7 separate regions of the Homo sapiens genome follow, and all the other regions are linked to region 1. Evidence: promoter capture Hi-C in 16 types of primary human blood cells and fetal thymus (Javierre and others, 2016). All regions are on one chromosome and are shown on one strand. The core of a region is centred on a gene start or on the middle of the fragment in contact, and the rest is flanking DNA. Distances in the headings are between cores, read along the strand shown.

The links. The method cuts DNA at HindIII sites, captures the fragments that hold promoters and counts their contacts. A CHiCAGO score of 5 or more calls a contact.
Region 2: a contact is called between a fragment that was not itself captured here and the fragment with the promoter of MIR17HG in region 1, in 1 of 17 cell types (naive CD8 T cells). The highest score is 5.9, in naive CD8 T cells.
Region 3: a contact is called between a fragment that was not itself captured here and the fragment with the promoter of MIR17HG in region 1, in 4 of 17 cell types (naive CD8 T cells, non-activated CD4 T cells, fetal thymus and 1 more). The highest score is 11.0, in naive CD8 T cells.
Region 4: a contact is called between a fragment that was not itself captured here and the fragment with the promoter of MIR17HG in region 1, in 4 of 17 cell types (naive CD4 T cells, activated CD4 T cells, naive CD8 T cells and 1 more). The highest score is 8.6, in naive CD4 T cells.
Region 5: a fragment that was not itself captured here is called in contact with the fragment with the promoter of MIR17HG in region 1 in 1 of 17 cell types (naive CD8 T cells); the score reaches 6.0 in naive CD8 T cells.
Region 6: a fragment that was not itself captured here is called in contact with the fragment with the promoter of MIR17HG in region 1 in 1 of 17 cell types (total CD4 T cells); the score reaches 7.1 in total CD4 T cells.
Region 7: a contact is called between a fragment that was not itself captured here and the fragment with the promoter of MIR17HG in region 1, in 7 of 17 cell types (naive B cells, naive CD4 T cells, non-activated CD4 T cells and 4 more). The highest score is 10.9, in naive B cells.

Annotation. Positions count from the first base shown.
Region 1 is chr13:91,346,150-91,349,725 of GRCh38, reverse strand. It overlaps MIR17HG (miR-17-92a-1 cluster host gene), which reads right to left and starts at 2,039. Exons shown (of 3, transcript NR_197388.1): 1 at 1,767-2,039; 2 at 1-28. RefSeq lists enhancers at 1-453, 454-1,001, 2,471-2,550 and silencers at 551-1,540, 1,591-2,370. The HindIII fragment of the contact is 6,871 bases long and covers 1-3,576 here.
Region 2 is chr13:95,684,243-95,687,818 of GRCh38, reverse strand. The region is part of intron 1 of DNAJC3 (DnaJ heat shock protein family (Hsp40) member C3); the gene reads right to left. Among named protein-coding and RNA genes, the nearest start is that of DNAJC3, 8.9 kb to the right of the region's middle. The HindIII fragment of the contact is 620 bases long and covers 1,394-2,013 here.
Region 3 is chr13:95,668,021-95,671,596 of GRCh38, reverse strand. No RefSeq gene overlaps it. Among named protein-coding and RNA genes, the nearest start is that of DNAJC3-DT, 7.1 kb to the left of the region's middle. The HindIII fragment of the contact is 5,545 bases long and covers 1-3,576 here.
Region 4 is chr13:95,303,618-95,307,193 of GRCh38, reverse strand. All of the region lies in intron 2 of LOC102724149 (a long non-coding RNA gene), which reads right to left. Among named protein-coding and RNA genes, the nearest start is that of ABCC4, 4.0 kb to the right of the region's middle. The HindIII fragment of the contact is 4,555 bases long and covers 1-3,576 here.
Region 5 is chr13:95,189,896-95,193,471 of GRCh38, reverse strand. All of the region lies in intron 9 of ABCC4 (ATP binding cassette subfamily C member 4 (PEL blood group)), which reads left to right. Among named protein-coding and RNA genes, the nearest start is that of SNORD13G, 19 kb to the left of the region's middle. RefSeq lists an enhancer at 1-39. The HindIII fragment of the contact is 6,767 bases long and covers 1-3,576 here.
Region 6 is chr13:95,171,251-95,174,826 of GRCh38, reverse strand. All of the region lies in intron 13 of ABCC4 (ATP binding cassette subfamily C member 4 (PEL blood group)), which reads left to right. Among named protein-coding and RNA genes, the nearest start is that of SNORD13G, 37 kb to the left of the region's middle. RefSeq lists an enhancer at 1-384. The HindIII fragment of the contact is 2,428 bases long and covers 475-2,902 here.
Region 7 is chr13:94,622,003-94,625,578 of GRCh38, reverse strand. It overlaps GPR180 (G protein-coupled receptor 180), which reads right to left. Exons shown (of 9, transcript NM_180989.6): 7 at 2,279-2,470. Among named protein-coding and RNA genes, the nearest start is that of GPR180, 22 kb to the right of the region's middle. The HindIII fragment of the contact is 8,166 bases long and covers 1-3,576 here.

The sequences.
Region 1 (3,576 bases), core at 790-3,289:
ACTGGTGCAGTTAGGTCCACGTGTATGACTGGAATAGGGAAAAATAAGGAAAAAAAAGATAAAACATTATTTGCTCAAAATTACTACCACCGTCCAAATCTATATTTGCTATTTTCCAACCTCCTAACAGCAATTAATTCCATCCATTTGTGAGAGTAAGAGTCGAGCAATACTAGCAGGATTTAAAAGCCCAATAATTTACAGTTGAAAAATACGTAAGAGAATAAAGTTGAAAAATCCTTAGCTATCAGATACATGTCTAAATAAGCTCCTAAAATACTTGATTATGATCAGCAGCAATCACCGACTCCACTGTACAGCTCCAGTAAAAGGAAAAAAAAAAAGCAGCCCACAGACTATTCTTCACCACCCCTCCCCCAATCAAGACCTCGTGGCTGCAAGCCGGGATAAAGAGTTGTTTCTCCAACTGCTGTGGTCCTGATGGCATGCCGTTAATTTTCTCTTTTGGTGATATTGCAACGACGAGCCTGCCTTTTTCAGTTCCTTTTCCCTTTGCTGCAGTTTAGGAACAGAAGACCGGGCAGGAACACCCGAGACTGCAAAGTGCCCGCCACGCTCATGGAGCCCGGGCCGGCAGCACATGTCGCACAAGGGGGAGCGCGGCCCTGCGATTCTCCGCGTAGCCGCCAGGGGGCGGCGGGTCAGAGTCAGGCCCCGCCGGACGCGGCAACCCCCCCAACCCGTTTCCCGGCGGCAGCCGCGCGGCGACCGGCGGCGCCGAGGCCCGAGTGCGGCGGGGACGCGGGCGCGCCGCCCCTCCTTTGTGTCCCCCAGCCCCCCCGAGCCCGGCCCAGAGGGGCGGGGGCTCCGCGGCCGCGGTGCCCGTCGCACGCGGCCCGAGGCCTAAGCCGGGAACAATCGGCGGCGGCGCGCAGTCGCCGCCATGTCCCCCGCCCTCACCCCCGTGCAGCCCGCCCCGCAGGAACATGGCGGCGGGGACGCCGCTCCCGCCGAGCCGGGCTGGCCCTCCCGCGCCACACTCCCAGCAAGCGGCCGGGCGCAGGCGGCTCCACGCCGCGGCTGAGGCCGACTGCGGCCTCCTCCGAGGGCCACGGCGGGGAAGTTGCGGGCCCCGCCCCGAGGCTGCCCACGCGGGCTAACAAAGCCCACGCGGAGCGGGGGTGGCGCCCAGGCCGCGCCGATCTCGGCGCCCCTCCGCCCACCCTCGCGCGTACAAAGTTTGGGGAACCGCGGGCTCCCGCCCACGCCACGCCGCCCGCTGGCGCGCAGGTACCTCGTGGGCGCGCCCCCTCCCGGCCCGCGGCCTGCCCCATGTGCCGCCGCCGCCGCCGCTTTGTTCTGGAGGCGCTTTAACTCTCGCCCTCGGGAGAAACTTTCCTACCCAGAGACCCCACGCCCCGCGCGCGCCCCGGGCCCCGGAGAAGGCACGGGCCTCGCACGTCCTCTCCCCGAGGGGCCATTGTGTTCGCCGTCCGCCCACCCGCCTTCGGGTCGGCCCAGGCAGGGTCTGCGCGGGTCCCGGGCGCGGCCGCCACGCGCACGCCGCCCCCTCCCACCCTCCCGCCCCGGCCCTGCCCCCCTCCGCCGGCCCGCGGGCGAGCGAGGGGGCAGCCAGATGCGGCTGCCACACGCCGGGGCGGCCAACGGCCGAGACCCGCCCCGGCCACGCCGCCGCCGCCACGCTGCCCCGGGCCAGTCCGCCCCGGGCCGCTCCGCCCCGCCCGCCAGACCCGGGCCGCACACAACAGGTTTCCCTCCGTCGCCGGAGGGGCGGGCAGACTCACCAGGAGGAGTAGCCGCCACCATCTTCGGCTGGCCGGCCGCGGGCTCCTGCTCCCGCCTCCCCGCCCGCCTGCGCTTTACTACGACCGGAGGCCCCAGGCCGGGGGTGCGGCCGGCCGGCCCGCCCCGCGAGGAGAGCTTCGCGGAGGAGCGCGAGCCCCGGCGGCGCTGCGGTAGTCGTCCCCACCCCCTCGGCCTCGCCCGAGGGCGCGAAGTGGCGCGAAGGCGCAGGTCGGGCGGCGGCGGCGGCACCTCGAAGGACCATGTGGGTGAATGAAGGGCGGCGGCTCCCGCCTCAACGTAAATACGGACAAGCCCCACTCCCTCATTAGCATAAAAAACAAAGTACTTCCGACCTCCCCGCCCGCCCGCCAATCACCGCAGGCCCCGCCCACGGCGGCTCGTTCTTGGCGGCCGGGAGAGCGGGAGCCGGGAGCCGCTGGCGGCGCCGCGCAGCCTTCCCCGGGCCGCGCTCCCCCGTGGCCCGCCCACCGCCGCCAGCCTCGCGGAGCGCCTCGCCCGAACACCTCGCGCCACGCCTCCGGCACGCCCTCCGTTAACAAGCTCTGCGCGCGTGCAGACCCCCGCGCGCCGCACACCCTCCTGGAAGCGCACGCTTCCCGGGGCTTCCTGGGAGCCCTGCTCTCCCTGGGACTCGACGTGTACGCTGTGCGATCACAGTTTATTACTTTACCGGCCCTTGGTGGGTTTCCGAGGTAATTAGGGGCCTGCTCCAGGCCAACCGGAACCAGAGAAGTAAAATCCAGTGACTTTAACATCGAAACAGAATTACTCGCTGCAAAGATCGTTTGAGACCCAGAAATAAATACATTACACCCGACACTCTTGTGAATGCACACTTCGTGGCAATGTGTTTCCTTAACCTGGCCGCGTGTAAACCAAAACGCATGCCCGAGCAGAGGTTTCACAGCTGCAGTACCTGAGCCTCCCCTCTCATGCCCAGCTGCATTTAGTAAGAACTCTGGGTTCTCCAGTAGAAATAGCATAGCTCGGAAAGAACCTCATAAACAACCACAAAGCTGAGAAAAGAAGCCCAATCAGGAGCACCTCCTTCTTCACATTGTGGTTCAGGAAATTCCGGAATTCTCAGAAACATAATTGTTAAAAGTGAGGATTCATAACATTTACGAGAAATACAGCAATTATAAATTGGTTTAAATCTAGTAAGTAGCTACTGCAAAGCACATATCACTGGTTCGTGATTGTACAAGTCAACTGTAAAACACACATTACCAAAGGATGTCTTTAATGCCCCAATGTTAAAATTTTTGACATTCAAACCTTGACAGTATTGTCATTTACTGTCTTTGACTTATTTTATCATGCTTTGCTTAAATCCAATTGTCAAACTAGTGATGACATAAAAAATAGTGGATTAAAGTTTTGCTACTCTTTTTTTTATTGAGTCTAGTTTCTAGATATTCCTTTCTTTGTAAATCAAAATAAAAGGCCAAATCTGAAATTTTACAATATCTAATATTTCTGTAATATAGTCATTTATGAACGTTTCAAAGAGGAAAACACTGCTAATTTTATTACAAGTCTAATTTTACGTTACTTTTGGTCGGCATTGACTAATATGTCAATGCCTTTTTCTTTAAAACTTTATCTTCTGTTTCAAATTAGAATGGTTGAGGCGGGGGGATGTTGTGAGTAAGATTGTTCATCACACTCTCTGAATCATGGGAAATCCCACCTATATACAGGTTTCTTAGCAGGAGTTATTCATCTCATAGTTTCCTTCCAATTAAAGTCAACATTGAAATACTACTAGCTTTAAAAAGCTGTTTT
Region 2 (3,576 bases), core at 454-2,953, 4.3 Mb before region 1:
GTCATTTTTCACAGAATTAAAAATATATATATTCTAAAATTCATATAAAACCAAAAAAGAACCTGAATAGCCAAAGCAATCCTTAGCAAAAAGAACTAAGCTGGAGGTATCACATTACCCAACTTCACACTATACTATAAGGCTACAGTAACCAAGACAGTATGCTTTGGGTGGTATGTGGATTGCTTTAGGTAGTGTTGTCTTTTTAACGATATTATATTCTCCAAATCCATGAGCAAAATTGATAAACTGCTAGCTAGATTAACTAGGCATACAGGAAACATACCTCAACATAATAAAGGCCACATATGACAAACCCACAGCCAATATACTGAATGGGGAAAAGCTGAAAGCATTCACCCTAAGAATTGGAACAGGACAATGATGTTCACTCTTACTATTCCAATTCAACATAGTACTGGAAGTCCTGGCTAAAGTTATCAGGCAAGAAAAAGAAATAAAAGATATCCAAAAGGGACAAGAGGAGGTCAAATTATGTCTCTTCACAAATATGATTTTTTTACCTAGAAAACCCTAAAGATTCTACTAAAGGACTCCAAGACCGATAAACAACTTGAGTAAAGTCTCAGTATACAAAACCATGGTATAAAAATCTGTAGCATTTCTATACACCAACAATATTCAAGCCAAAAACCAAATCAAGAATTCAATCCCATTTACAAAAGCCATATGCAAAAAAATAAAATACCTAGGAAAACACTGACCAAGGAGGTGAAAGATCTCCATGAGAACTACAAAACACTTATGAAACAAATCATATATGTCATAAATAAACACAAAAACATCCCAGGCTCATGGATTTGGAGACTATCATTAAAATAACCATACTGCCCATAGTAATCTGTAGATTCAACACAATTCCTATCAAATCACCAATGTCATTTTTCAGAGAACTAGGAAAAACAATTCTAAAGTCCATACAGCACCAAAAAAGGGCATGAATAGCCAAAGTAATCCTAACCAAAAAGAACAAATCCAGAGGCATCACATTACTTGACTTCAAATTATACTACAAGGCTATAGTAACTAAAATGGCATGGTACTGGTACAAAAATACGCACACAGATCAATGGACTACAATAGAGAACCCCAGAAATAAAACCACATACTTACATCCAACAGATTGATCTTTGACAAAGCTGACAAATATAAACAACAGGGAAAGGACACCCTAATTCAATAAATGGTGCTGGGAAAATTGGCTAGCCATATGCAGAAGAAACTGGATCTCTGTCTCCCAGCATATACAAAAACTACCTCAAGATAGATTAAACATTTTGGACATTGGCCTAGGCAAACAACTTATGACGAAGACCCCAAACACAAATGCAACAAAACCAAAAATAAACAAATGGGACTTAACTAAAAAGCTTCTGCACATCAAAAGATAATCAACAGGGCAAAGAGACAAACTACAGAATGAGAGAAAACATTTGCAAATTATGCCTCCGACAAAGGACTAATATCCAGAATCTACAAGACACTCAAACAACTCAACAAGAAGAAAACAAAGAACCCCATTAAAAAGTGGGCAAAGGGCCAGGCGCACTGGCTCACGCCTGTAATCCCAGCACTTTGGGAGGCCAAGGCGGGTGGCTCACAAGGTCGGGAGATCAAGACCATTCTGGCTAGCACAGTGAAACCCTGTCTCTACTAAAAATACAAAAAATTAGCCGGGCATGGTGGCAGGCACCTGTAGTCCCAGCTGCTTAGGAGGCTGAGGCAGGAGAATGGCGTGAACCTGGGAGGCGGAGCTTGCAGTGAGCCAAGATCGTGCCACTGCATTCCAGCCTGGGCGACAGAGCAAGACTCTGTCTCAAAAAAAAAAAAAGTGGGCAAAGGACATTAAGAGACATTTCTCAAAAGAAGACATACAAGCAGCCAACAAACATGAAAAAATGTTCATCACTAATCATCAGAGAAATGCAAATTAAAACCACAATGAAATATCAATCATCTTACACAAGTCTGAGTGGCTATTACTAAAAAGCTTAAAAAAAAATAGATGTTAGCATGGAGGTGAAGAAATTGTAACACATATATGGGTGGCAGCAATGTAAATTAGTTCAACCACTATGGAAAACAATATGGAGATTTCTAAAAAAAAACAAAAAACCTACCACCAAGCCCCAACTCCAACATTAGGGATTACAATTCAACATAAGATTTGGGTGGGGCACAGATCCAAACCATATCATTCCGCCCCAGCTCCTCCAAAATATCATGTTCTCACATTACAAAATACAATCATCCCTTCTCAACAGCCCCCAAAGTCTTAACTCATTCCAGCATTAACTCAAAAGTCCAAAGTCTCATCTGGGACAAGCCAAGTCCCTTCCACCTATAAGCCTATAAAATCAAAAACAAGTTAATTACTTCCAAGATACAATGGGATTATAGGCATTGGGTAAATAGTCCCATTCCAAAAGGGTAAAACCGGCCAAAAGAAAAAGGCTACGGGCCCCATGCACGTGCTAAAACCCAGCAGGGCAGTTATTAAATCTTAAAGCTCCAAAATAATCTCCTTTGACTCCATGTCTCACATCCAGGGCATATTGCAGCAAGGGGTGAGCTCCCAAGGCCTTGGGCAGTGCCACTCCTGTGACTTTGCAGGGCTCAGCCCACGCGGCTGCTGTCAAGGGCTGGCAATGAGTGGCTGCAGCTTTTCCAGGTGCATGGTGCAAGCTGTCAGCGGATCTACCATTCTGGGGTCTGAAAGATGGTGGTCTTTCTCACAGCTCCACTAGGCAGTGCCCCAGTGGGGACTCTGTTGGGGGCTCCAACCCCACATTTCCCCTCTGCACTGCCCTAGTAGAGATTTTTCCATGAGGGCTCTGCCCCTGCAGCAACCTTCTGCCTGAACATCCAGGCTTTTCCATATATCTGAAATCTAGGCTGAGGCTCCCAAGCCTCAATTCTTGGCTTTCAGCACCTGCAGGCTTAACAGCATGTGGAATCTTCCAAGGGTTTGGGCTGGCACCGTCTGAAGGCCTGAGCTATATCTGGGCCCCTTTCAGCCATGGCTGGAGCTGGAGTAACTAGGATGCAGGCAGCAGTGTCCTGAGGCTGGCAGGGCCCTGGCCCAGGAAACTGTTCTTCCCTCCTAGGTCTCTGGGCCTATGATAGAAGGAGCTGCCTTAAAGGTCGCTGAGATGCCTTGGAGCCCTTTTTCCCATTGTCTTGGCTATCAGCACTTGGCTCCTCTTTACTTATGCAAATTCATGCAGTCTGCTTGAATTACTCCCCTATAAATGGGTTTTTCTTTTCTACCACATGGTCAGACTGAAAATTTTCCAACTCTTCTGCTCTGTTTCCCTTTTAAATGTAAGTTCCAATTTTACATCATTTCTTTGTTCATGAATATGAGCACTGGCTGCTAGAGGCCAGGTCACATCTTGAACACTTTGCTGCTTAGAAGTTTCTTCCACCAGATACCCTAAATCACCTCTCTCAAGTTCAAAGTTCCACAGATCCATAGACCAGGGGTACAATGCCACCAGTCTCTTTACTAAAGCATAGCAAGAGTGGCCTTTACTCCAGTTCCCAATAAGTTCC
Region 3 (3,576 bases), core at 603-3,102, 4.3 Mb before region 1:
ACAATAGGATAGAGTATTGAGCAGGGTCATGAGGCCCCCATTGCAGGCCCTAGCTCCCAGACAACATACCTAGACATACCCTGGGCCAGAGGGGAACCCACTATCTTAAAGGGAAGTACCCAGTCCTGGCAGGATTCATCACCTGCTGATTAAAGGGCCCTTGGGTCCTGAATAATCAGCAGCGGTAACCAGGTAATACATGCTGTGGGCCTTGGGTGAGACTCTGAGGTATACTGGCTGCAGGTGTGACCCAGCATATTCACAGCTATGGGTGGCTATGAGGAAAGACTCCATCTGTTTAAGAAAAGGAGAGGGAAGAATAAAGGAGACTTTGTCTTATAGCTGAGGTGCCAGCTCAACTACAGTGGGGAAGTGAACCAAGTGGGCTCTTCGGGTCCCTGATTCCAGAGTTGGCTCTTGGATGGCATTTCTGGCCCTGGGCCAGAGGGGAGCCCACTGCCCTGAAAGGTGAATTCCAGGCATGGCAGCATTGACCACAAGCTGACTACAAAGCCCTTAGGTCTTAAGTGAACATCAGCAGAATCATGGCAATACTCCCAGTGTCTTGTGATGTTGATGGACATGGGGAGAGACTCCTCTGCCTGGTGAAAGAGGAGGGAAGACTAGAAAGGACTTCGTCTTATGGTTTCAGTGCTAGCTTACCCTCAGTAGAATAGAGCACCGGGTAGATTTCTAAGGTTTCTGACTCCAGGTTCTGGAGTTACTGCTGCTGACTCCTAAACAGCATCTCTGAACCCACCCGGGGCTCTGAGGAACTCGCCATCCTGAAGAGAAAGACAGAAAGCTAGCTGGCTTCACTGCCTGCTAATTGTAGAGCCCTAGGAACTTCAGCTAACATAGGTAGTAGCAGGTAGTGGTTACAGTGGGCCTTTGGCATAACCCATAGCTGTGCTGGCTTCAGGTCTGACCATCCACAGTCCCAGTGATGGTGGCCACGGAGGTACTTGTGTCACCCCTCCCCCGGCTACAGGTAGTGTTGCTGGACGTCAGGGACCCCGAATGGAGGGACCAGCTGGAGCTGCAGCAGAGGAATATAAATTGTGAAGATTTCATGGACATTTATCAGTTCCCAAATAATACTTTTATAATTTCTTATGCCTGTCTTTAATCTCTTAATCCTGTTATCTTCGTAAACTGAGGATGTACATCACCTCAGGACCATTGTGACAATTGTGTACAAATTGATTGTAAAACGTGTGTTTGAACAATATGAAATCAGTGCACCTTGAAAAAGAACAGAATAACCACGATTTTTAGGGAACAAGGGAAGACAACAGTAAGGGCTGACTGCCTGCAGGGTTGGGCAAAAAGAGCCATATTTTTCTTCTTGCAGAGAGCCTATAAATGGACGTGCAAGTAGGAGAGATATCACTAAATTCTTTTCCTAGCAAAGAATATTAATATTAATACCCTGGGAAAGGAATGCATTCCTGGGGGAAGGTCTATAAACGGCCGCTCTGGGAATGTCTGTCCTATGCAGTTGAGGTAAGGACTGAGATACGCCCTGGTCTCCTGCAGTACCCTGAGGCTTACTAGGATGGGGAAAGACCCAGGCCTGGTAAGACCGGTTCTCTGCTCTCGAACCCTGTTTTCTGTTATTTAAGATGTTTATCAAGACAATACATGCACCACTGAACATAGACCCTTATCAGTAGTTCTCCTTTTTGCCCTTTGAAGCATGTGATCTACTCCCTGTTCTTACACCCCCTCGCCTTTTAAAACACTTAATAAAAAACTTGACGGTTTGAGGCCCAGCGGGGCATCACGGTCCTACCAATATGTGATGTCACCCCCAGCAGCCAAGCTGTAAAATTCCTCTCTTTGTAATCTTTCTCTATTTCTCAGCTGGCCGACACTTAGGGAAAATAGAAAGAACCTACATTGAAATATTGGGGGCGGTTCCCCCGATAAGGTAGCTCAACAGAGAGAGATAGAGAGAGAGAGACAGACTGATTCTGTTTGGGCAAAAACAAGGAAAAAGAACAAGAGTCTCTGCCCAGTAATCCAGATAATTCTTTCGGGTATTATCCAAGACCACCAAAGCAGTACCTCTATGTGTATGAAAGAACTACAATATTACTGCATTTAGGGGCCCACTAATGCAGATATGGCTGCAGTGACCAAAAACTTAGATCACAACATCCAAGCCCATTTGAATACCTGGAATGCCTTCCCAAGAAGGATGACTACAAACAAGCCCTACTGTGAAGACTACAATAAATACCTAACTCTTCAATGCCCAGACACCAACAAACATCCACAAGCACCAAGTCATCCAGGAAAGCATGACCTCAGCAAACAAACTAAACAAGGTACCAGGGGCGAATCCCAGAGAGACAGAGATATGTTACCTTTCAGACAGAGAATTCAAAATAGCTGTTTGGAGGAAACTCAAAGAAATACAAGATAATGGAGAGAAGGAACTTAGAATCCTATCACATAAATTTAACAACGAAATTGAAATAAGTGAAAAGCAGAAATTCTGGAGTTGAAAAATGCAATCAACATACTGAAGGCATCAGAGTCTCTTAATAGCAGAATTGATCAAGCAGAAGAAAATAATAGCTTGAAGACAGGCTGTTTGAAAATATACACTCAGAAGAGACAAAAGAAAAAAAGAATAAAAAAGAATGAAGCACACCTACAGGATCTAGATAATAGTTTCAAGGGGGAAAATCTAAGAGTTATTGGCCCTAAAGAGATGGTGGTGGGGGGCGGGTAGAAAGTTTGTTCAAAGGGATAAAAACAGAGAACTTCCCAAAACCTCCCAAACCTAGACAAAAATATCAATACTCAAGTATAAAAAGATTATAGATCACCAAGCAGATTTAACCCAAAGACTACCTCAAGGCATTTAACAGTCAAACTCCCAATGGTCAAGGATAAACAAAGGATCCTAAAAACAGCAAGGGAAAAGAAACAAATAACATACAATGGAGCTTTAATATGTCTGGCAGCAGATTTCTCAGTGGAAACCTTACAGGCAAGGAGAGAGTGGCATGACACATTTAAAGTGCTAAAGGAAAAAAAATGACCTTAGAATAATATATCCAGTGAAACTATCCTTGAACCATGAGGAGAAATAAAGACTTTCCTGGGAAAATAAAATCCATGGGATTTCATGAACACCATACCAGTCCTACAAGAAATGCTAAAGGGGGTACTTTAATCAGAAAGAAAATGATGTTGATGAGCAAAAGAAATCATCTGAAGGTACAAAACTCACTGGTAATAGTAAGTACACAGAAAAACACAGACTATTATAATACTGTAACTGGCATGTGTAAACTACTCAAGTAGAAAGACTAAATGATGAACCAATAAAAATAATGACTACAACAACTTTTCAAGACATAGTACAGTAAGATATAAATAGAAACAACAAAAAGTTAAAAAGCTGGGGGATGAAGTTAAGGTGTAGAGTTTTTATTAGTTTTTGCCTAAATGTTTGTTTATGTAAACAGTGTTATTATCAGCTTAAAGTAATGGGTTATAAGATAGTAGTTACAAGCCTCATAGTAACCTCAAATCAAAAAGCATATAACAGATATACAA
Region 4 (3,576 bases), core at 650-3,149, 4.0 Mb before region 1:
CAATTCCCACCTATGAGTGAGAACATGCAGTGTTTGGTTTTTTGTCCTTGCGATAGTTTGCTGAGAATGATGGTTTCCAGCTTCATCCATGTCCCTACAAAGGACATGAACTCATCATTTTTTATGGCTGCATAGTATTCCATGGTGTATATGTGCCACATTTTCTTAATCCAGTCTATCATTGTTGGACATTTGGGTTGGTTCCAAGTCTTTGCTATTGTGAATAGTGCTGCAATAAACATACGTGTGCATGTGTCTTTATAGCAGCATGATTTATAATCCTTTGGGTATATACCCAGTAATGAGATTGCTGGGTCAAATGGTATTTCTAGCTCTAGATCCCTGAGGAATTGCCACACTGACTTCCACAATGGTTGAACTAGTTTACAGTCCCACCAACAGTGTAAAAGTGTTCCTATTTCTCCACATCCTCTCCAGCACCTGTTGTTTCCTGACTTTTTAATGATTGCCATTCTAACTGGTGTGAGATGGTATCTCATTGTGGTTTTGATTTGCATTTCTCTGATGGCCAGTGATGGTGAGCATTTTTTCATGTGTCTTTTGGCTGCATAAATGTCTTCTTTTGAGAAGTGTCTGTTCATATCCTTCGCCCACTTTTTAATGGGGTTGTTTGTTTTTTTCTTGTAAATTTGTTGAGTTCCTTGTAGATTCTGGATATTAGCCCTTTGTCTGATGAGTAGGTTGCAAAAATTTTCTCCCATTTTGTAGGTTGCCTGTTCACTTTGATGGTGGTTTCTTTTGCTGTGCAGAAGCTCTTTAGTTTAATTAGATCCCGTTTGTCAATTTTGGCTTTTGTTGCCATTGCTTTTGGTGTTTTAGACATGAGGTCCTTGCCCATGCCTATTCTTAAGACATCTTTAGGCTGGGTGCTGTGGCTCTCACCTGTAATCCCAGCACTTTAGGAGGCTGAGGCTGGCAGATCACTTGAGCTCAGGAGTTTGAGACCAGCCTGGGCAACACAGCAAAACCCCCTCTCTACCAAAAAAATACAAAAGTTAGCTGGGCATGGTGGTGCGTGCCTGTAGTTCCAGCTACTTGGGATGCTGAGATGGGAGGATGGGCTTGAGCCCGGGAGGTTGTAGTGAGCCAAGATTGCACCACTGCACTCCAGCCTGGGTGAGAGCTAGACCCTGTTTCAAAAACAAACAAACAAACAAACAAACAAACAAAAAAGAAGACATCTTCCTCGTCTTTGCAGGCTCATTCCCTGGCCTAGCTGTCATGTATCCAGAAGGCGTTCACTAACGATTTATTGAATGAATGGGAAAAAACCCCCATCCTTTAATTTGTATATTGCCTTCAGAGTGTATTCACAAGTTGTGAGACTCACAATAATCCTGTGAAGAAGGAAGAGTGGGGATTCTGATCCCTATTTTGTTTTTACATGTATTTTTATGTTTTTAGAGACAGGGTCTCTCACTCTGTCTCCCAGGTTGGAGTGCAGTCGTGCAATCAGAGCTCACTGCAGCCTCAAACTCCTAGGCTCAAGTGATCCTCCCATCTTACCCTCCCGAGTAGCTAGGACTACAGGTGTGTGCCACCATGCCTGGCTAATTTAAAAAACATTATTATTACTATTATTATTATTATTTTTTATTTTTATTTTTTGTAGAGACGGCATCTCATCACATTGCCCAGGCTGCTCTCGAACTCCTGGCTTCAAGTGATGCTCCTGCCTTGGGCTCCCAAAATGTTGAAATTATAGGTGTGAGCTACCATGCCCTGCCTGACCCCATTTTATTGTTGTTGTTTTTTTTTGAGATGGAGTCTAGCTCTGTCACCTAGGCTGGAGTGCAGCAGCGAGCTCTTGGCTCATGGCTCACTGCAACCTCTGCAGCCCAGGTTCAAGTAATTCTCCTGCCTTAGCGTCTCAAGTAGGTGGGACTACAGGCGCATGCCACCAAGCCTGGCTAATTTTTATCTTTTTTTTTTTTTTTTTGAGACAGAATCTCGCTCTGTCGCCAGGCTGGAGTGCAGTGGCATGATCTCGGCTCACTGCAACCTCTGACTCCCTGGTTCAAGCAATTCTCCTGCCTCAGTCTCGCAGGTAGCTGGGATTACAGGCACATGCCACCACGCCCAGATCATTTTTGTATTTTTAGTAGAGAGGGGGTTTTGCCATGTTGGCGAGGCTGGTTTCTAACTCCTGACCTCAGGTGATCTGTCTGCCTCCGCCTCCCAAAGTGCTGGGATAACAGGCATGAGCCCCTGCGCCCGCCCCGACCCCATTTTAGACCTGAGAAAAATAAGGGTCAGAAAGGTTAGGTAACAAGTGAAAAGATATAAAGCCCTGGCCCCCTGGTTCCATATCCACTCCTCTCTGCAGTCAGACACTGCTCTATAGTATCTCTTCCAAACACCACATTGTTAATGTTCAGAAAAGAATGTTAAGAAGTTCCAAAAGATCTTAATTAAGAAAAAAATAAGCCTCTGCAGGAGCCGAAGGGACTGAGCACTTTGGCAATTTGGAGATGGCTAATGACGGTTCTTACACAGTTGTTGGGGGTAGGGAGAGCATTCTGGGACAGTCTGACAGAGGAAGTCACTAGACTTCTAACTTTAGTAAACAGGTTCTCTAGCTTGGAAGTAGAACTGGTAGCTCAGCATTTACTGGGCTAGAAAACTTAGGAAGTTTCAAAGGGCACTGTAAATCAGGTGAAGGCTGACTATTTTGGTTTATAGCTTATATTATCTGAGAAAGAGCTATCAGAAAGGTAGGTTATTGAATGATCATAGCTTTCCCACAGTAGTCAACTTAAAATATTGTGTTCCTTTTTGTGACAGAAATTCTGAAACATGAGCTGGTATGCTGGCGAGTGCCTACAATCCCAGGTACTTGGAGGGGTTGAGGCAGGAGGATCCCTTGGGCCCAGCAGCTTGAGTCCAGCCTGGGCAACATACTGAGAGCCCATCTCCAAAAAGAAAACCATTCTCAAACATGCATGAAATGTAAGAAAATAAACCCCTATGACACATCATTTGGCTTCAAAAATTATCAATATTTTGCCATTCTTATGTGCTTGACTTTTTTTTTTTTTGAGACAGAGTCTCACTCTTTAGCCCAGGCTGGAGGGCAGTGGTGTGATCATAGCCTACTGTAGCCTCCAACTCCTGGGCTTAAGCAATCCTCCCACCTGAACCTCCAGCTGGGACTACAGACTCACGCCACCACACCCATCATATTTTTACATTTTTAGTAGAGATGAGGTCTCCCTTTGTTGCCCAGGCTGGTCTAGAACTCCTGGGCTCAAGCAATCCTCCCACCTGAGCCTCCAGGTTACATGGGACTACAGACTTACTCCACCATGCCCATCTAATTTTCACATTTTTAGTGGAGATGAGGTCTCCCTATGTTGCCCAGGCTGGTCTAGAACTCCCGGGCTAAAGCAATCCTCCTGTCTCCACCTCTCAAAGTGCTGGGATTATGGGCTTGTACAGCCTGGAGTGCAGTGGCACCTTCTTTTTTTTTTTGAGACGGAGTTTCACTCTTGTTGCCAAGCTGGAGTGCAGTGGGATGATCTCGGCTCACTGCAACCTCCGCCTCCTGGGTTCAAG
Region 5 (3,576 bases), core at 1-2,500, 3.8 Mb before region 1:
ACGGCAGGAAGCTGCACCCCGGGGCTGGAGATGATGTCTGCCAGGAGCAGAGCCCAGTGGCCCAGCTGCCAGCAAGATTTGGGAGCAGAGGGCGAGGGTCTCTTCTGAGGGTACTGGAACAGCTCAGGCTGCTTAAAACAGGTGGGCAGTGCTGGTGGTGACCAGCTCCTCCCCTCTCCGGGTGCTCTTTGTGGCTGACCTTGCGTTGTAGCGTAGTTTGCTGGAGCCAAGAGCCAATAGGCGGTTGAGCAGCACTCCTGCCCAGCCCCACTGCCTCCGTCCTCCCCTGTGGGACAAATGTCAAAACTCTCTAGACTCCAGACTCTTCCTTTCTCTACATGCCCTTGGCTCTAAGTATTGCACTCCCTGTTTCATGTTTGCCTAATTCTGATGTAATTTCTGCCATCTCTACCAACAAAACAATAATGTGTTCCCAGATATTTAGAACATCATCGCATCTTGTGCACATGGAAACTCACACAAGGTGACAGTTTCTCTTTATCTGCTGGCATTCCCACCCTCATACACTTTATTTATTTATTTATTTGTTTTGGAGACAGAGTCTTGCTCTTTTGCCTAGGCTGGAGTGCAGTGCTGTGATTTCGGCTCACTGTAACCTCTGTCTCCCAGGGTCAAGTGATTCTCCTGCCTCAACCTCGTGAGTAGCTAGGATTACAGGCACGCCCCACCATGCCTGGCTAATTTTTGTATTTTTAGTAGAGACAGGGTTTCTCCCATGTTGGCCAGGCTGGTCTTGAATTTCTGGCCTCAAGTGATCTGCCCGCCTTGGCCTCCCAAAGTGCTGGGATTGCAGGCATGAGCCACCGTGCCCAGCTCTAATACACTTCAAGCATTGACAGACAGCTCTGTGAACATCCCACTAGAAAAAAGCACTCTAGGTGAATGCTGTTGAGCTAGAGGAAGGCACTGAGGTAGCTACCACACACTGTGTAGGTCCCATTTGCAAATTTCTTTTGTACCAAACCCTGCGATATTGTAAAATGGTCTGTTTTGTTGTTTTTCGGTTCCTAGATAACATTGACAGCTGCATTGTAAACAGAACACTCCATCCTGTTTTCTGGCCTTGTCTTGGGGTGATTTTGCCTCACACTGGCAGGGATTATTAGGGAGGTCCTGCGGCTGAGAGGGTGCTGGGGTGGGAGGAGGGGCACAGACACGGGCTTCTGGAGAGAAGCTGCAGAGGAAAGAAGGGTGTGCTGGGCTGGGATTTCGGAGAAAGACAGAGACCCCAGCAGCAGTCCTGCTGGATAGACCAGCAGGTATTGGAGGGAAGGTCTTCTCACCAGCCTAGGTCTCATTTATAAAACAGGGGCTTGGGCTGAAGCTGTAAAGTCTGTGGCCCCGTGAGAGCCTGTGACTCTCCATGGGGAAGGGATTTGCTTCTGCTTTCTTCACTGCTCTGGCCCCAGGGCCCACAGAGTGGGGGCTCAGTCTGCCTGCCTTAGTGTGTCTTGGAGCCTGGGGAGGTCCCAGAGGGAATGGGCCTAGCCTTCTGAGCTGTCGAGTGCTGCCCCCTTCTGGCTGCAGCCCACCAGTGCTGGGTCCCAGGCCTCCCGGCGGGGCAGAAACCTGCTCTAAGAACCAGGGCCTTGATGGGAAGCTGGGTTTTGCATGTGGCTCACTCTTTTGCAGCCAAAACTGAATAAAAAGAAGTAAAATCAGAAGTAGTTGTTAGGAAAGAGACACACTGCAAAGGAGGGGAAAGGGACAGGTTGACCGGTTGTGTTTTTTCATCCTTTTGTAATCACAGAAATAAGTAGGTTTCAGTTGTCTTAAGAGACAGATGTTACTTAATCAGGAATACAGAGTAGACCCGTTACATTTTAGAGGAGGAACACCTTATATAGTAAGGCGAAGTCAAGCAAGACTTTGTGAATTTGTGACAAGTTTGCACTTAAAATCGTGTAAATATGTCACATTTTGTTTAACGTTATTTTTCCAAGTGTTTAGGTAATGTATTACTTTTTTAAAAAAGAAATAGTTGTTAGGCATGTATGAAGGAGTAAAGAAACCTATTCTGGGTGGTTGTTATATAATTCCTATGAAATCTGGGGCTAATTTCTTTGTGCTTAAAAGGGATCATGATCGTTTTGGTCTGCGGCCATCCTATGATGTGGTATGGGACACATAAGGGGTCAGTTTTCATACACACATATTTTAGCATTTGACCATTTATAGAAATATTTGTGATTATTCGGATATGTGACCATTAAGTCGTTTCCAGGTAAATTTTTCATTTTGAAGGTTATCTTGATCTCTTATTCCCCCACCGTGCTTTCTGTCTTTTGGGCATTTTACTAATTGCACATGCCCGCTTGAGATGTGGAGAGGGGTTGATGAGTAACTGTGGGCTGCGCCAGCTCAGTGTCTTTAGGTTTTGGGTTGGTTGACTCCATGCGTGCTTCCCTCTTCCATCATCCCAGGGGTGTTCCACCCTTCAGGGACGCCAGATTCATTTTGAAGAATCCTTTTCTAGAGTTGAGGAGGCTGCATTGCCTTTGATTCATTCTTGATCATTTTTCTATGATATGGATGAGCATTTACCAAAGTGTGTCGTGCAGAAGAATAGCCACTTCCGAAAGGATTTGGGACTTGAATAAATTTGCTAAATGCCTACCCACCAGACATGCATGGTCAAGTCTCTCCAATCTATCCACGAGAAATTCAGACGAAGATTATAAATGTGCTGCTTAAACCCCTTTAGGATTCCTCCCAAATTGTAGCTGTTTTTACTTTACTTAACAGTATCAATTTTTGTCTACTAGTGTTGATGTCTGGGTTTGGACAAAAGTTCTTAGAGTTGGCAGTTTTTACGGTTGAGGTTCTATACTCTGAATTTAAAACCATTCCTCTCTTTATTTGTACCAACTGACTTTTGCTTTTTTAAAAGATAGATAATTCAAAGTACTGATTGTCCTTGTATGAGAAGAGGAAACCTCCTCATTTTGGTTTATCATGCTCTGGTAAACTATCCCTATCATGCTCTGGTAAACTATCCCTTCTCCCTGATACACACTTAATCCTCTCAATTGAAAATATTTAGAAGCTCTTTGTAAAAGTAATGAATTTGATTTGGTCTCCTAAATAATAAACTGCAAAATAACATTTTTTTGAGACAAGGTCTTACTGTGTCACCCGGGTTAGAGTGCAGTGGTGCAATCTTGGCTCACTGCAACCTCAGCCTCCGGTGCTCAAGGGATCCTCCTGCCTCATCCTCCTGAGTAGCTGGGACTATGGCACACACCATGCCTGGCTGATTTTTTTTTCTTTAAGAGATGGTTTCTCACTATGTTGCCCCAGCTTGTCTTGAACTCCTAGGCTCAAGTGATCCTCCCACCTCCATCTCCCAAAATGTTGGGATTACAGGCATGAACCAGTCCGTACCCTGCCTAAAACAACTTTTTTTTTTTTAACATTAGCAGTGATTGATAATTTTGTTAACATTTAGTATATGTAAAAACATGCATATACTCCTGAATCTTTTTATCATAGAATTTATAGATTGTTTAGGAACATTATTTCTGATACCCTAATGAGTACTTCATCCCTTCCTCC
Region 6 (3,576 bases), core at 439-2,938, 3.8 Mb before region 1:
CTCGTTTCCTGCTCCCTCCTCATTGTGCCTTGATGAATTTTCCATTTCGCCGAGAAGGGCCTCTGTGGCTTGCTTGAGTCTTGCGCGAGGCCCCACCAGTTCTTTATCACTCAAACAACAATTCCCGGTGGGACGCTGTTTAGAGTCGCCGCGGGGAAGGAGGAAGGTATTTTCATTGCTGAGTATCAGTGTGCGTATCGCACAAGCTCCCTCAGATTTTCATTTGAACACAGGAGGTATTTATAAAGTCCTCTTGCACCTTTAAGGATTAATGACTTTGGATATATGCTTGTTAGAAGCAAGCTTGTTAAAATTGTTGTTTGCTAATCAGAATCACATTCTTTGGGGAAACTTAGGGCAGGGAGCACGAATGCAATTTAGGAAATCACTCAGCAGCAACTGGAGAATGTTCTCAACGAGTTAGAAAATTGGATTGAACAATATGCTATGAAAGATGGCGGTTGTGTTGAAGCTTAGAAATGTGAAGTGTTTTGTATTAAAAGTGAATGAATTACGCTTCTATTTGCCATTAACAGTTTTACTTCAATCATGAATATATATCGAGAGTTGTTAAGAGTTGTGTTTTACAACTATATGTTGCAAACACTAAGTGGATTTTATCACATACAAAAAGTGAGGGTCACTTAGATTAAAGGATGCTAATCCAATTTGTTGCCTGCTATAGATGTGGTTGTGTTCTAGAAAGCCTCAAATTCTCAGACCCCTGCCTCTTTGAGTCTCCTAATCAGATCTCCCACACTGTTGCCTACCTATTTGTCTTAGTCCATTCAGGCTGCTGATTCAAAATAGCATAAACTAGGTACTCCATATAAACAATAGAAAATTGTTTCTACAGTTCTGGAGGACAAGATTCAAGATCAAGGCGCCAGCAGTTTTGGTGCCTGGAGAGGGCTCACGCTCTGGTTCATAGACAGCTGTCTTGTCACTGTGGAAGGGGTACGGCAGCTTCCCTGGGCTGGCCCCTTCTACTAATACCATTTGTGTTGGCAGATTCTCATGAAATAGGCCTCACCTCCTAATACCATTACATTGGTGATTAGGGTTCAGTAGGAATTTGGGGAGGGCCACAAACATTCAGGCACAGCACTAGTTCACCTTCCCTCTTTCAGGTCCTCTAGGACTCCCCTACTTTTAAGCTACAGTTCTAAGTCCTCGAATGGCAAATTGCCCTTTGCAGTCTGCCCCATTCACCTTTCCAACCCTTGCCATGCAAGACCAGTCCTCCAGCCATGCACACTTCTTTGGGGTGCCTGGAAGGAGGTGTGAATTTCTCACGTCTGCCTGTCTGTAAGGGTATTTTTCCTGCCGTTGGACAACCAGGGATAGTTTGCCTGGGCAAAAGAGAAAAATGAAAGACACAGATCCTACCTCCTGCCTTTCTCTTCTGCTCCTCGGAGGGCATGGCGCTTTCTCTGTCTTCCCACAGCCCTCAATGAGCTGCTCTTGATCCACCTATGTGTTCTTCCCTCCAGCCCCCGCACTAGACTGCGAATGCATGAAGGTGCCTTTGCACAGCGCATTTGTGCCCCGGGACCATTGCACCTGCTGTATCTGCCAGGAATGCTTCCCCCAGATAGTCTCATGGCTCATACATCACCTCCTTGCAGAGAGGACTTTCCTGGCCACTCCCTCTAAAGTACAACCTTTGCCTGGCTGTCTCTTCATGGTTTACTTTACTATCCAATAGTGTGTTTTCTGTGTTTGTGTAGTGAGTGTCCCTACACGACTCAGGGTGTTGTCTGTTTGCTTGACCAGTGGATGTATCCTCATCACTTAGAGTAGTCCCTGGTACTTCGTCAGTGCTCAGCAAATGTATCTTAACTGAATGAATGAAGGTAGTGACTGTATCTGTCCCTCTCTCCCTCCCTCCATCCCTTCCTTCCTTTTTTGACAGAGTTTTGCCCTGTCACCCAGGCTGAAGTGCAATGGCATGATCACGGCCCACTGCAACTTCTACCTCCTGGGCTCAAGTGATCCTCCCGAGTAGCTGGGACTACAAGTGCACACCACCACTCCTGGCTAAGTTTCGTGTTTTTTTGTAGAGATGGGATCTCTCCATGTTGCCCAGACTGGCCTTTAACTCCTGGGTTCAAAAGATCCTCCTGCCTTAACCTCCCAAAGTGCTGGGATTATAGGTGTGAGCCACTGCACCAACTGACTATATCTTTCTCACTTGTGTCACCTCCAACATTGTATGTGTCAGCTCTTAATGTTGTCTTTTTTTTTTTTTTTTCCTTTTTGAGGCAGAGTCTCGCTCTGTTGCCCAGGCTGGAGTGCAGTGGCATGATCTTGGATCACTGCAGGCCTCCTGGGTTCCAGCAATTCTTGTGCCTCAGCCAGCCGAGTAGCTGGGATTACAGGCATGGGTGACCACATCCAGCTAATTTTTGTATTTTTAGTGGAGATGGGATTTCACCGTGTTGCTTGAACTCCCGACCTCAAGTGATCTGTCTGCCTCAGCCTTCCAAAGTGCTGGAATTATAGGCGTGAGCCCCCGTGGCTGGCCTCTTAATGTAGTCTTTATGTAGGATTAGAGTTAAATAGCTCATTGCTACATCAATCACTTATTATTTGTTTGTTTTATGGCATGACTGGAAGATTTTTACTCTTAATAATTTGGAAAGTATTTTTTGAGATTTGCCTAAGAAGCATAATTTAGAAAAAATTTCAAGCCATCAATTACAATGTTAGTGTAATTATTTCTATTATCTCATCTACAATGGAAGATGTTAGGAAGAAAACATTTTGAAACCTTTGAGTTGGCTGATACTGGACATAGCACCCATCAGATTTGATCATTAACATCTCCCTTTAGATATGTATATAAAAGGACTAATGGCAGCCAATCTTGATATAAAGGGAAACAGTTTCATTAAAAGCTTTAGTACTAAACCTGAAGAGGGGTATAAGTACTAAACCTGAAGAGGTATACTAGATTGAACAACTTAGTTTTGAAATAAGCCAAACTAAGATATGTGAAAGGGGAAAAAATAATCCTTTTGGACGTAAAGGATGAAGTGATAGTTTACATATCTGCAGTCTGGAGTTGTGGTTCTGATCACAGGCACTGTCTCTAAAATACTTGCTTATGACTTCTCAGTCCTGAATTTCTAAAAGCAGTGGCTGCATATGAGGAAGACTGGAGGACAGGGCTAACACTTATTGAGCATGAGTTATGTTCTTGGCCCTTGTTACAGATTAATGCTTTTCTTTTCTTTTTCTTTTTTTTTTTTCTCCTTTTTTTCTTTTTGAGACAGGGTCTTACTCTGTCAACCAGGCTGGAGTGCAGTGGTGTGATGACGGCTCACTGTAGCCTCACCTCCTGGGCTCAAGTGATTCTCCCACCTTAGCCTCCCTTCTAGCTGGGACTACAGGTGTGTGCCACCACACCCGGCTAATTTTTTTTTTTTGTAGCTCCCAGGAGTCTACGTTTACAATGTAGGAGAACTTTGAGTGGGTACCGTAGAAAACAAACAAACGTCAGAAAACTTGATGGTTGAATACTGAGGTGGGTCTTATCTTTGAGCCATATGGTTTGGACTGTTTGGATTCTGT
Region 7 (3,576 bases), core at 700-3,199, 3.3 Mb before region 1:
ACAAAAAACATTAATAGTCGTTACCTGTTTGAGGGTTAGAACAGAGGAGGGGGAGCTGGGCAGGTAAGAATGGGTAACTGTTTATACTTTTCAAATATTTTTCTATTCTTCCTTGAACCTAGTAATGTATTCTCTTTTCCAAAATTAAATTTGAAATAAAAAATAAGTTAATAAATAGCTGTTGAAATGTTTGGTACATTAAAGATATAGGGAGAAAAAAACAAGATATAGAAAAATGTTTAGTATGTTACTATTTGTATAAAAATGAAAGGAAATATATATAGGCATATATACTTAAAACTCCAGAAGGATAAATTAAGAACTAATAGCAATTGTGTGAGGAGGTGAGAATAACTTTTTGCTACTCCTTAAATACTTTTAGATGTTTGATCCTATTTAGAAAGTTAAATTAAAACATGAAATACTTTAAATTTTGCACTGCTTTAAGCATAAAGCAAAACAAGAGGCTAGGCGCGGTGGCTCATGCCTGTAATCCCAACATTTTGGGAGGCCGAGGCGGGCGGATCACCTGAGGTCGGGAGTTCCAGAACAGCCTGACCAACATGGAGAAACCCCATCTCTACTGAAAATGCAGAAATTAGCCAGGTGTGGTAGCACATGCCAGAGACTGAAACAGGAGAATCGCTTGACCCCAGGAGATGGAAGTTGCAGTGAGCCGAAATCGCACCACTGCACTACAGCCTGGACAAGAGCGAAACTCCATCTTAAAAAAGAAAGGCTGGGTGCGGTGGCTCACGCCTGTAATCCCAGCACTTTGGGAGGCCAAGGCGGGCATATCACAAGGTCAGGAGGTCGAGAGCATCCTGGCTAACACGGTGAAACCCCGTCTCTACTAAAAATACAAAAACTTAGCCGGGCGTGGGCGCGAGTTACTCGGGAGGCTGAGGCAGGAGAATGGCATGAACCCGGAAGGCGGAGCTTGCAGTGAGCCGAGATCACGCCACTGCACTCCAGCCTGGGCGATAGAGCGAGACACCGTCTCAAAAACAACAACGAAAAAAGCAAAATAAGAAAACTTAATGCCTAAACACCTCAAATACATATTAACTTATCAAACAATAAGCACTACTGTCCCTCTGAAAAACTCAAAGGCAGGATGACATCTTCTTGTCTTGCGCTCAGAAGCCTGAAGTTGGTTCTTAGGGCTGCAGCAGCAGCAGCTTTGCAATGCTCAACACTAGGAATAAAGCAGGAATCTGGCTCTCCTTCCATAGCTGCCTCAGAATAACGGCCAATAACTCTGGACAAGGTGGGCTGCCTGAACAGAATCAGTCTGATCAGAATGCTGGTTCGCAGGGCTAAAATGAAGGGGTATGGATTCTCTCAATCTGACAGAAAAATGAAACCTTCTAGGGAGGGAAGGTTCTATAATGTTACTGCTCTAACCCTTCTCCTGTATAGAAAAAAAACTGAATTTGCTTTTAGATCTCACTAGCACAAGAAGGTCAAGAAAGGAGGAATAAAGTGACACGATCTCATGTGGATGGGGTGAGGCTGGCTGAAACACATGGACTCAGCCTCCTGGCTCCAGCTGCTTATGCTGAAGGATAGCTCCTAACTGTTATAAAACACTGCATAACTCTGAGAATAACAGTTTATAGTCAATTAATAACTGTTGAGAAATCCAAACCATATTTGATTTTAAAAATTTAAAATTCTGGTATTACAGAAAAAAATGTAAAATCCCTATTGATGAAACTATGAACCAGGCAAAACTGACCCGCAAAGAATATATGGAAAATACTGTCTCACAGGTCTTGTAAAATAGGGATAATACCTACATCACATAAGTTGCTAAGGTTAAATGAGTTGAACCACATAAAGAACTTATGGTAGTGTCTGTCACATAACAGAAGTTTTTTTTTTTTTTTTTTGAAAAAAAGAAGGTCTCGCCCTGTCACCCAGGCTGGAGTGCAGTGGCCCAATCTTGGCTCACTGAAGCCTTCAATGCACAGGCTCAAGCAATCCTCCCATCTCAGCCTCTTGAGTAGCTGAGACAACAGGTGCTCGCCACAAAGCGTGGCTAATTTTAATTTTTTGTAGAGATGGGGTCTATGTTGCCCAGGCTGGTTTCCAACTTGGGGGCTCAAGCAATCTGTCTGTCTTGGCCTTCCAAAGCACTGGGATTATAGGAGTGAGCCACTGTGCCCAACCCAGAAGTTTAATAAAAGTTAGCATGTAGTTGTTTATTAACTTCCCAAAGAAACCAGAACCAAGTGGATAATCAGAATAAACGATTTTCTTTCCAAACCCATACTTTGGCAAATGTGATGTAGAACTCCCTTTTGAGTGTACTTCTCTCCACTGTGATGATCTGATAGAGTCCACAGCCTAATGACAATGCTAGGCAAATTCTTAGAACAATTAGGAGGATCCCTGCTAAGTTGTGGTGTGAATGGTAGCTATGATGACTGATATCTTCAAACTGTTCCCAAAGTAGCAAAACACTCTGCAAAAGAAAAACAATATTACATTTAGGAAAAAAAAATATACCTCATTACAATATTTTTTTCAACTCTTTAATAAACATCCCTTTAAATGTTATATAAACATTCCTATCAGACCATAGAGGTTGTTAATTAATAAAGTACAGTCTTTTCATCACTCTAATACCCTAAGCTAGACAAAATGAATTTTTATCAAGTGAGACCACAGTTAAGAGATTTTTAAAAAATTCTATTGCTGCCGGGCACAGTGGCTCAGGCCTGTAATCCCAGCACTTTGGGAGGCCAAGGTGGGTGGATCACCTGAGGTCAGGAGTTCGAGACCAGCCTGGCCAACATGGTGAAACCCCACCTCTACTAAAAATACAAAAAATTAGCTGGGTGTGGTGGCGGGCACCTGTAATCTCAGCTACTTGGGAGGCTGAGGTAGGAGAATCACTTGAACCCAGGAGGTGGAGGTTCCTGATTTCTTAACCAACATTTCTGAACTTCACTTTTGCAATACAGAAGTGCTACCACAGAGCTACCACAGCCCATGGTTCATATTTTTACATATTCAAACTTCCCTGTTTTCATATACATATGCTAATATGTGATCTGTATAAAATACGTATGTATTTGTATAGTCTCTGACTGCCTGTCTGATCTGCCTTGTCTGGCTTGTTGAAGATCAGAGCTATATTTAATGTATTCTTCATAAATGTTCATATAAACTCTAGTGTAATATTATCTCAGTTCTCAATTCATATTTGTCTATGACAATAAATTAAAATTACAATGAAATAATAAAAATGAAATTTTTAAAAAGAAATAAAAAGTGAGAATTTAACCTGACATTGACACTACTCTCCATAAGTCCTGGCTCAAAAACATTAAGTTGGTAGAATCTCAACCTTATTTTAATCAATTCTTCTAATTCAATTATTTCTCATCATCCCCTTTCCTGGCACTACCTCCTTTCTAAATATCACCACCTGTGATATGGTCTCTCTCAAATCATTCATGTAAATTCAATACTCCTATTCCACTCAAAACCTACTATATTAAATACTAGGGATAGAAAGATGAATAAAGCACTGACCCCATCCTTCATTAATACATTTTTCAATTT